2 separate regions of the Homo sapiens genome follow, and region 1 is linked to region 2. The links are contacts of gene promoters, found by promoter capture Hi-C in blood cells and fetal thymus (Javierre and others, 2016). All regions are on one chromosome and are shown on one strand. The core of a region is centred on a gene start or on the middle of the fragment in contact, and the rest is flanking DNA. Distances in the headings are between cores, read along the strand shown.

Evidence for each region. Contacts are between HindIII fragments. The CHiCAGO score rates a contact against its expected background, and 5 or more counts as called.
Region 1: a fragment that was not itself captured here is called in contact with the fragment with the promoter of GAL in region 2 in 1 of 17 cell types (total CD4 T cells); the score reaches 5.1 in total CD4 T cells.

What each region holds. Positions count from the first base shown.
Region 1 is chr11:69,657,354-69,661,338 of GRCh38, reverse strand. LOC124902704 reads left to right here and starts at 3,424. Exons shown (of 1, transcript XM_047427985.1): 1 at 3,424-3,985. The coding sequence starts at 3,424. RefSeq lists enhancers at 1-485, 2,865-3,592. The HindIII fragment of the contact is 180 bases long and covers 2,174-2,353 here.
Region 2 is chr11:68,682,078-68,686,530 of GRCh38, reverse strand. GAL (galanin and GMAP prepropeptide) reads right to left here and starts at 1,987. Exons shown (of 6, transcript NM_015973.5): 1 at 1,799-1,987; 2 at 1,527-1,607; 3 at 883-937. The coding sequence starts at 1,607. The region is part of intron 2 of LOC107984343 (a long non-coding RNA gene); the gene reads left to right. RefSeq lists enhancers at 1,241-1,916, 2,593-3,268. The HindIII fragment of the contact is 13,008 bases long and covers 712-4,453 here.

The sequences.
Region 1 (3,985 bases), core at 1,014-3,513, 970 kb before region 2:
TCCCTGCCTGGGCTTCGTTTGCTGGTCTGGAGGGTAAGGGTGCCGGCCACACCATCCAGACACTTCTGGCCTTGCATGTGGGGCCTCCTCAGGGATTTGCCTGGACTCCCCCAGGTCTCAGCCGCCACTGAGGGCAAGTGGCGGGAGCCCCCGAAAGGCGCTGTGACCGCAAGGCTCACTCTCCAAGAGGCCTCTGCCTTCTGGGAGGCGCAGCTGCCCTGCACAGAGGACTGAGTCAGGGTCCACCAGAGAAGGCTGGCTTGAGCCTCTCCCCTGGTCTCAGCCCCTGCAGGCACTATCCGGCCTCAGAACTTGGGATATGGATGTGGTCAGGCCCTTTCTCCAGGTCAGTTTGGTCACACGTGTGCTCTGTTACACACAGAGTGTGTGCCATGGAAGAGGGACCTGTCCCTTCAGACAGAGCAGTTCTAGGCATACTTCTGGGCACTGGTGGCCCCAAGAGGAGTCATTCCCTGACCCTGTGGAACTCCCAGCTAAGCAAGACAGGCATGTTGAAATTCCAAGATCACATGGTAACTTTGTCAGTCGCTCCTGTTGTTTATATCAATCATAACATGTTAGATCTAGAAGAGGTAGAAAACACACACAAGCGGCCGGGTGCGGTGGCTCACGCCTGTAATCCTAGCACTTTGGGACGCCGAGGCGGGTGGATCACGAGGTCAGGAGATCGAGACCATCCTGGCTAACACGGTGAAACCCGGTCTCTACTAAAATACAAATAATTAGCTGGGCGTGGTAGCGGGCGCCTGTAGTCCCAGCTACTCGAGAGGCTGAGGCAGGAGAATGGCGTGAATCCGGGAGGCAGAGCTTGCAGTGAGCCGAGAGCAGGCCACTGCACTCCAGCCTGGGCGAGAGTGAGACTCCGTCTCAAAAAAAAAAAAAGAAAACACACACAAGCTGTAATAGTTAAGTGTCTTTGAAAACCAAATGACACAGTGCCCATATCAAACTGACTTAATGAAGGACAATGATTGGCTTCTGGAACAAAAGGGGGATGACTTCAGGAGAGGCTTGATCCAGCAGTTTGTCTGGAGACCCATTCCCTGCTTTCCCTCAGGGCTGGCCTTACGCTCAGCCTCCCCTGTGAGGTCCTGGGAGCAGCTCAGTCTTCCCTTAGGGCTGCAGGGGGGCAGTGCCACCCCTGGGCTTGTGTTTCCCTGCTGGGAATCCTAAGGAAGGGGGAAGCATTATCTTTTTCAGAAGCTCCAGAAAATGTCTCCTCAAGACTCAATGGCTCTATTTGATTTCTCACCCATCCATTAACTTGCTGCTCTTCTGGTGGGTGTGGATGTGCAGTTGGGTTTCAGCCTATGAAGACCTGGCCTGGAGCTGGGGATGGGTTCGGTCCCACTCAAACCACAGATCTGGGAATGGTGGTTCCCTGGAGCAAAGTCTGGGTGCTGTCAACACCAGGAGGGGGCATCCGTGGTGTCAAGAAGACCCAGAACTGTCTACTTAATGTGCCAAAGGAGGGAAGTAAGATCGGCTTTGGTGCCACCACCCAGGCGGCCGCCGTGGCATGGAGGCCTGTGCTTCCAGACCTGGGCAGTGCATGGAATGCTGATGGTGATTATGCGGATGCGCCGAGGGGATGATGGCGTTCCCTGAGTGATCACTGCACCCCAAGCTCGGTGCTCAGCAGTGCTTCACACACATTGAGCCATAGAATCCTCAGCACCCCAGAAAGAATTCAGTTATTGACAGAGATTTATGGAGCCCCCGTTCTGTGCTGGTCGTTGTCGTGAGTAGGAGATGGAGACGACTCCCCATCATGGGCTGTGTTCTTGCAGGATTTCCCCATGTTATAGGTGTGAACATTGAGGCCCAGAGAAATGAGGCCGCACAGCTGGAAAGCTGCAGATCCGAGATCCAACCCCAGGGCCTTTTACTCCAAAACGTGTGTGCTTAATGTGTGCCTATACATGCCGGTGAGTTTTCTTTTTAAACAGCTGGTCACCCTCAGATGTCCACTGCCGGCCTGTTTGGCTGCCCTTCTCCAGGCCAGCAGCCAAGACACAGTGCCGCCCGCAGGGGCAACCTACTGGGAGCCTCGAAACAGGTGGAGCTGGCGAAGCAGGGCCCTGAGCTGTGTGCGTGGGGCCTGGCTGCAAATGGCCCAATGAAGCCTCCGTGCATTTCCCTTTTTGAAGCTTGAGCCTTTTCTTCTCCATGAGGCTGACCCACCAGGCTGGCTTGGTCACACACTAGCTGTGCAGTCCTGGCTCAGTTACTTTACCTCTCTGGGCCTCGGTTTACTCATCTACAACAGGGGTCGGCAAACTACCACCCTCAGCCTGAATCCAGTCTGCTGCCTATTTTTGTAAATAAAGCTTTATTGGCACACAGCCATGCTCACTCATTCACAGAGCGGCTGCAGCTGCTTTTGCACAGGGCAAGAGAACCTGTGGCCCACAAAGCCTGAAGCCTCTCTCTGTGGCCCTTTCCAGAAAACCTGCCAATCCCTGACCTAGCAGATGGGATGATTGTGTGCGGGAGAGTGTAGGCTCTGGGAGGGCAGGGCTGTGTCTGTGGCTGCCACCAGAGTGTCCCCTCCCTGTCACCAACCCATGGGGTCGTTGCAAAACTCAGAGAGAAACTGTGTTCGGTGTTGAGCACAAGGCACACAGTGCGTGCTCAGTAACCTCCAGCTGCGATTCCTCCCGTGATTAAACAAAGGCAAGGAGGACTGCCTCGACAGGCTCAGAGGGCCCAGGGTCTGGAATAGGAGCTGATCCTCGGGTTAGACCACTCAGCTCTTAAAGTGGCTGCCGGTTGAGAGGCTTGTCTCAGCTGCCGCTAGGTGCAAATTAAAAGGATTAATGGACACCGCCGTCTTTGAAAGGCTCAAGGCCCACCGAAGCCCCTTCAGCAGAGGGCTCTGCATTCTCTCTTCCCCAGCCCTCCTTGTGTGCCCTCGTGAGTGGCGGTGACAATGCTCCCGGATGTGGGCCCCAAGGCCAGCGGCCCCAGAGCTGCCCGCCCACCCGTCCGCCTGCTATTGTCTGCTCAGGCCTGGCGGTGTGGCGCTGGGCTTGTGGGGCCCTGGCGGGCAGGGGACTGTGGGAACGGATTAGAGGTCCTGGGCTTGCTTTCCTCGTCTTGCATAAACTCTTGATCAAAGACATTCCTGGGATGACAGAGCCCTGTGAGCTGCGAGGCTGGCCCAGAGTGCGGGACGCACACCCCACGCTGCAGCCCCTGCACAGGCCTGCCCTTGCTGGCCCTCGCTGGCCCTGGCTGCAGTGCTGACTTTGGGGACTAGCCTTATGGTGGGACTGGTGATAGAGCGGGTGCCAGCAGGCAACACAGCCTTCCCCACCAGATTCAGAGGCCAGGCCCCCAATGCTGGGCAGAGCGAGGCTGTGACTGCTTCCTGGGGTGCTTCAAGGAGGGTCACGCTGCATGCAGGGTAGCCGGAGGGATTGCCGGATGCATGCCACTGCCACTGGACCTGGCTTCTCTGGACTCCCATGGGCAGTGCACCACCCTCTGCACAGCCCTAGCCACTGTTATCCCACAAGCGCGGTCCGAAGTCCACGTGCCCACTCTGCCCAGCCTCCTTCCTCTGTCCCCTCAGGGCCTTTCACTCCTTGTGACAACTCTAGGTGCTGTCTGGGCTCCTGGGGAACCCCCGACCCTTCCAGCCATGGAATCAGCTCCCGGCATGCGGGTCAGGCTGGACCCATGGCTCTGCACCTCAGCCCAGCAGCTTGGGGCTGCCCTGTAGGAGCCGACACGACCTCCCTTCCATTCGGCCCCCTTCCTAGGACCCACTGTATGCCAGGGTGGGGAGACGGAGGCAGAGAGAAATCTGGGAGATTTCCGTCCTGGAGGGGCTCAGCCAGAGCAGGAAGGTGCCCAGGCATGACAATCCCAGACTCCCAGAACCACCTGCCTGCTGTGGGGTGGGGAAGCCCTCAGAGAGCCCATCCTTACAGTCAGAGCAGAGATGAAGGTTCCTGTG
Region 2 (4,453 bases), core at 738-3,237:
CTGAGAACTAAGTCAGCTTTCCTTGGCATGGGGAGAAGAGCACCATTCTCCCCATTTGCTGCTCCGCGGGGCTCAGATAGGCCCTGCGTGCTGTTCACATCCTTCCTCTGGCAGAAGGCAGTACAGGGAGGCTTTTAAGGTGGATGGTGAGGTGTGGAGGGGAAGGTGAGTTACAGGAGGGAACCAAGGCCTCCTCTTGTCCCCTCCTTTGGAGGAAAGTCAGAAGGCATTGCTGCACAGACCAAGGATGTGGAGAAAGTAGAGGCCTGGGACAGGGGCGGGGGCGGACACGGGGAGGTGTCAGCCTGCAGTGTCCCATCTAGGGCTAGGGCTCACCTCAGGCAGCAGGGGACACCGCTGACACAGGTGACAACAACAGGACAGGGAGAGGGAGGGGACACAGGCTTGGGCAGGCAGGGTCACCTGAACCTTGTTTTGAGGGGAGCCTGTCTGGGCTGCCTTCAGGCGATCTGGCAATTCCCGTGTGGAGCTTGGAGAAAGGGAAGAGGGAGGCAGGATTTGGGGTCCGCTGACCTAGGGTGCTCTGCAAGCCGAGGAGTTGAGTGTTTTGGGAGACCCGGGGGCCTGGGGAGAGGCCCAGAACAGGGCCTGTAAGGACTGCAAGGCGGGAAAGCCCAGGAGAACTTGAGCAAAGCCCAGGGTGGGAATCTCACCCCGGGACAGGGCGGCAGAGCCGGGGCAGGAGAAGCTTCTGGAAAGAACCGTACACAGATCAAGTGTGCAGAGCAATGGAGACGGGCAATGAGGTCAAGAGGGAGGCCAGAGGGTCTGCCCAGCCGCAGGCGGAGGGGCAGGAGCCAGGGTTCAAAGCGAGGGGCAGGTGGGGTCAGGAGTGGGGAGGCCATGCTGTCAGTCACTTACGTGGGCCCAGCAGGTAGCCCGCGCTGTTCAGGGTCCAGCCTCGTTTTTCCTTGGCCTTGAAGGGAGAAAAGGGGATCAGATGCCAGGGCTGTGCCTGGAGCCTATGCTGAATGGGTGCACCCAGGCTTTCCCGGCATGGCAGAGGACTTAGAACAATGCATGTGCTTTTGGATAGCTCGCGAAATTCCAGGTTTACCCCTAAGTCGGCTATATTTGACATGAAAATGGAACCACTTTATTTACGAAATACTTCACTTGAGGGCCTGAGCCCGCGCACTCTCAGCGCACTGCACCTGCTTTAGTGACGCTGAGGCCACGCCAGTGGCTCCTAGCCCTCCATTCTAACTAAGCCCTGCGGAACGGGCGAGCTTCTCGCTTTCCCGAGGCGCTGACCCGAAGCGCAGAGCTCTCCCGGCGGCCTGGTTATAGCCCGGGGCTGTTGATACACTCGGAGAAGCGCGCGGGGGGAATCCCAGGGAGCCCCGGACCCTTCCCGCGACGCCCGCAGCCAGGACAGCGCCCGCCTTTCCACTTTCCACCCCCATCCCCGCGGGCAGGGCGGAGGCTGCCTCCTCCAGGAAGCCCTCCACGCCCGGCCGGCTCTGATGTCCCCTTCGCTCGGAGGAGACGCGCCCCGCACTTACCGGCGACCAGAGCCCCGCAGAGGCAGAAAGGGCCGCGGCGAGGAGGAGGGAGGCGAGCAGGAGGGCGCTGCCTCGGGCCATCTGGAAGGGAAGGACAGGGCGGGCGGGTCGGAACCCGGAGTGGGCTGCGCCCCGAGGCAAGGAGTGCCGGGGCTGCGGGGAGGAGCAGAGGCGGCGGCCGGGCCAGGGCCCTGGCAGAACCGTCCCTGGGCAGAGGAAAGCCGAAGGGGAGGCCTCCCGGGGGCGCAGGGTCGGCCCGGCGCCAGTAGTACCTTGAGCTGCGGCTGCGCCCGGGTTCGGAGCGTCGGGGTCCGGGTGCGGTGGCGGGTCTGGGCGGCAGGTCCGGGCGTCGGGCCGGGTCGGGTGGGCTCTGGCGGCCTGGGGCGCTCACCGCATGGCGCGGCCGGCAGCAGGGGCAGAAGGCGCGGGCCGGGTCCCTCCACGTGTCCGCCGCCCGGTGTGGCCGCCGCCACCGCCGCCGCTGCTATATATGCGGCGCACCCGGGAGCCGCCCGGAGTCGCGTCACCGGCTCAGCGCCCGCCTCCTGCACCCTCGCCGAGCCCCGAGGGCGACGGGAGTGACCCGAGCTCGGGTCCTCTGGGCCATCATAGGCGGGTGCGGCGGAGAGCCCCCCCTCATCCCGCGGGAGAGACTCCCCCAAATCTGCAGAGAGAACCCCAAACCCTGTGGGAGAGACCCTAATCCCGAAAGACAGAGCCCAATCGCCCCGCGGGAGAGCCCCCAGACCCGTGGCCCAAGTCATCGCTGTGGCGTCAACCCCACTGCTCCCCCCGGGGTCCCAGCCCCAGAGCAAGCCTGACCCCCCACAACGTCCCACGCCTGCGGTCTCCCTGCAGCTTCTCCTCCCAGCCCCTACCGCTGCAAAAGCCAGCTGAGCTCCGCAGCACTGGAGACCCCAGAGGGTGACGGGCAGGGACGACTCCTCAGTCCGAGCCAGCCCCAGCTGGGAGGTCATGGGGTACCCGGGGAATGGCGGGCAACACTTGGCCCTGCGCCCTGGCCGGCTTGTGCTGGGGCTGGAGCGAAGGTTCAGGCCTCGGGAGCCGTCGATGGCGGGGAGGGCAGGCGTTCCCGGCTCCCTGTGCCCAGCGACCTCCCTCCTGTTTCACTAAAGGGGGGCTGTGGATCTCAGGGTCTGCTTGGCCATCCCATTGTGGGAGCTGCGGGACCGTCGAGCATCCACAGGCACCAGCTCAGAAGCTCGGCCTCTCAGTGCCTCCCCTGGCTGCCTGGTCCAGTTGTAAGAGGGAGCTTTAAGCAGGTCCAGCCATTGGGCAACTGGTTAGGTCCAGAGGGAGAGCAGCCCAGACTCCCAGAGGCCGCCAAGGGGTGGGCGGTGGGCAGAGCAGCAGCAAGAGGCTGTCCTTGTGCCCAAGGCAAAGACATCCCACAGGAACAAGGCCCTCCTTGGCTCCTCCACAAACCCTTCCTGAGCTGGGGCCAAGTCCCGAAACAACCCAGGAGAGAACCCAAGCCTAGGCTGTTCCTTCACCCCATTCCCAGGCATCAGGGGAGCACAGGATCCCAGGCATCACACTTGTACAGTGTGGCACCTCCGGGCTTCCGAAGAGCACGGGGTCATCTGCTGAAAACTCGCCTGACCTCCCCTCCCACTGGCCAGACACCACCCAAGTCCTCAACAGCAGCAGCTGGGTTAGGATCTCCCCACCCACTGGGCTCAATATCAGATGGGTTGATGTCACATCTGTGGGTTGATGTCCACAGGGCACAGGACGAATGATGATCATGACAGTGTCATCTTACCTGTCCTCTACACTTTAGTCTTGGGAACCTTTGCACAGACAGCTACAGGCTGCCCCCAGGAGAGATCCGTCTGCCTCCACGTGGCTGGGGAAGGACAACTGGGCTTTCAAGAACTCTGGCGAAGGCCAGCGGCTGCTGGAGAAGGTGCAGGGCTGCAGCCTGGTGGCTGAGTGTCTGCTGTGGTTTATGGGAGGAAGAGGAGGAGACAGGACTTGGGGAGGGGTCTTAGGAACAGACTCCTGGCACGACAGTGGTGAGGGGTGGGGTGTTCCCAAGGGCACAGTTTGACTTCTGGTCATCCCTATTTCTTGCAGCCTGGGGAGAGGAGAGTCAGGCACAGGGGACCCTAACTAGGACTCACAGGCTGATTTCGGAGCCCACAGTAAACCCTGAAGTGGTTTCCTGCCGGGAGTGGGGGCGTGGGAGACAGTGAGTCGCCATGAGAGTCTGGGCCAGCCGTGGGCAGAAGGACAGCCGAGAGGCGGAGGAGCAGAGGGCACGTTCCTGTGACTCTGCAGAGAAGTGACAATGATGTCCTCTCATGCCCCATGTCCTTGTGTCTAGATGACATCAGGGAGTGGGCAGGGGCTGGGCTCATGGGTGCCTCTTGGCTACCTGAGAAATACTGCAACCTTTGGCCCCCGGTGGTAGTGGGAGCCCTGCTACCATCCCAGAGCTCTTTCTTGCTTTCTGCTGAGAACAAATCCAGCCCAGTGCATAGCACATCTTAGTCAATTCCAGCCTTCTCCTTTCTTCCACGTTAGGCCCCCTTCCAAATCCTGCCAGAGCTTGACTACACTTATTTTCTCTATTTACTTTGTCACAGAGGCTCTTAGTCTGTTTAAAGGAGCACAAACTCTAAACCTAAATCCTTGAGATGGATTCGAAAAGAGACTCAAAGTCCATCCCTTAGTCATGGGCTGGAATTTGAGGTACATTAAACTTTCAGCTGTCTTCATTTGGGCCTATGTACTCTTTTTGTTTCCTTTTTTGCTTTCAAAGAAACTTCAGACTGGGCGCAGTGGCTCACGCTTGTAATCCCAGCATTTTGGGAGGCTGAGGTGAGTAGATAGATCACTTGAGCCCTGGAGTCCAAGACCAGCTGGGGCAACATAGCAAGGCCTCATCTCTACTAAAAATA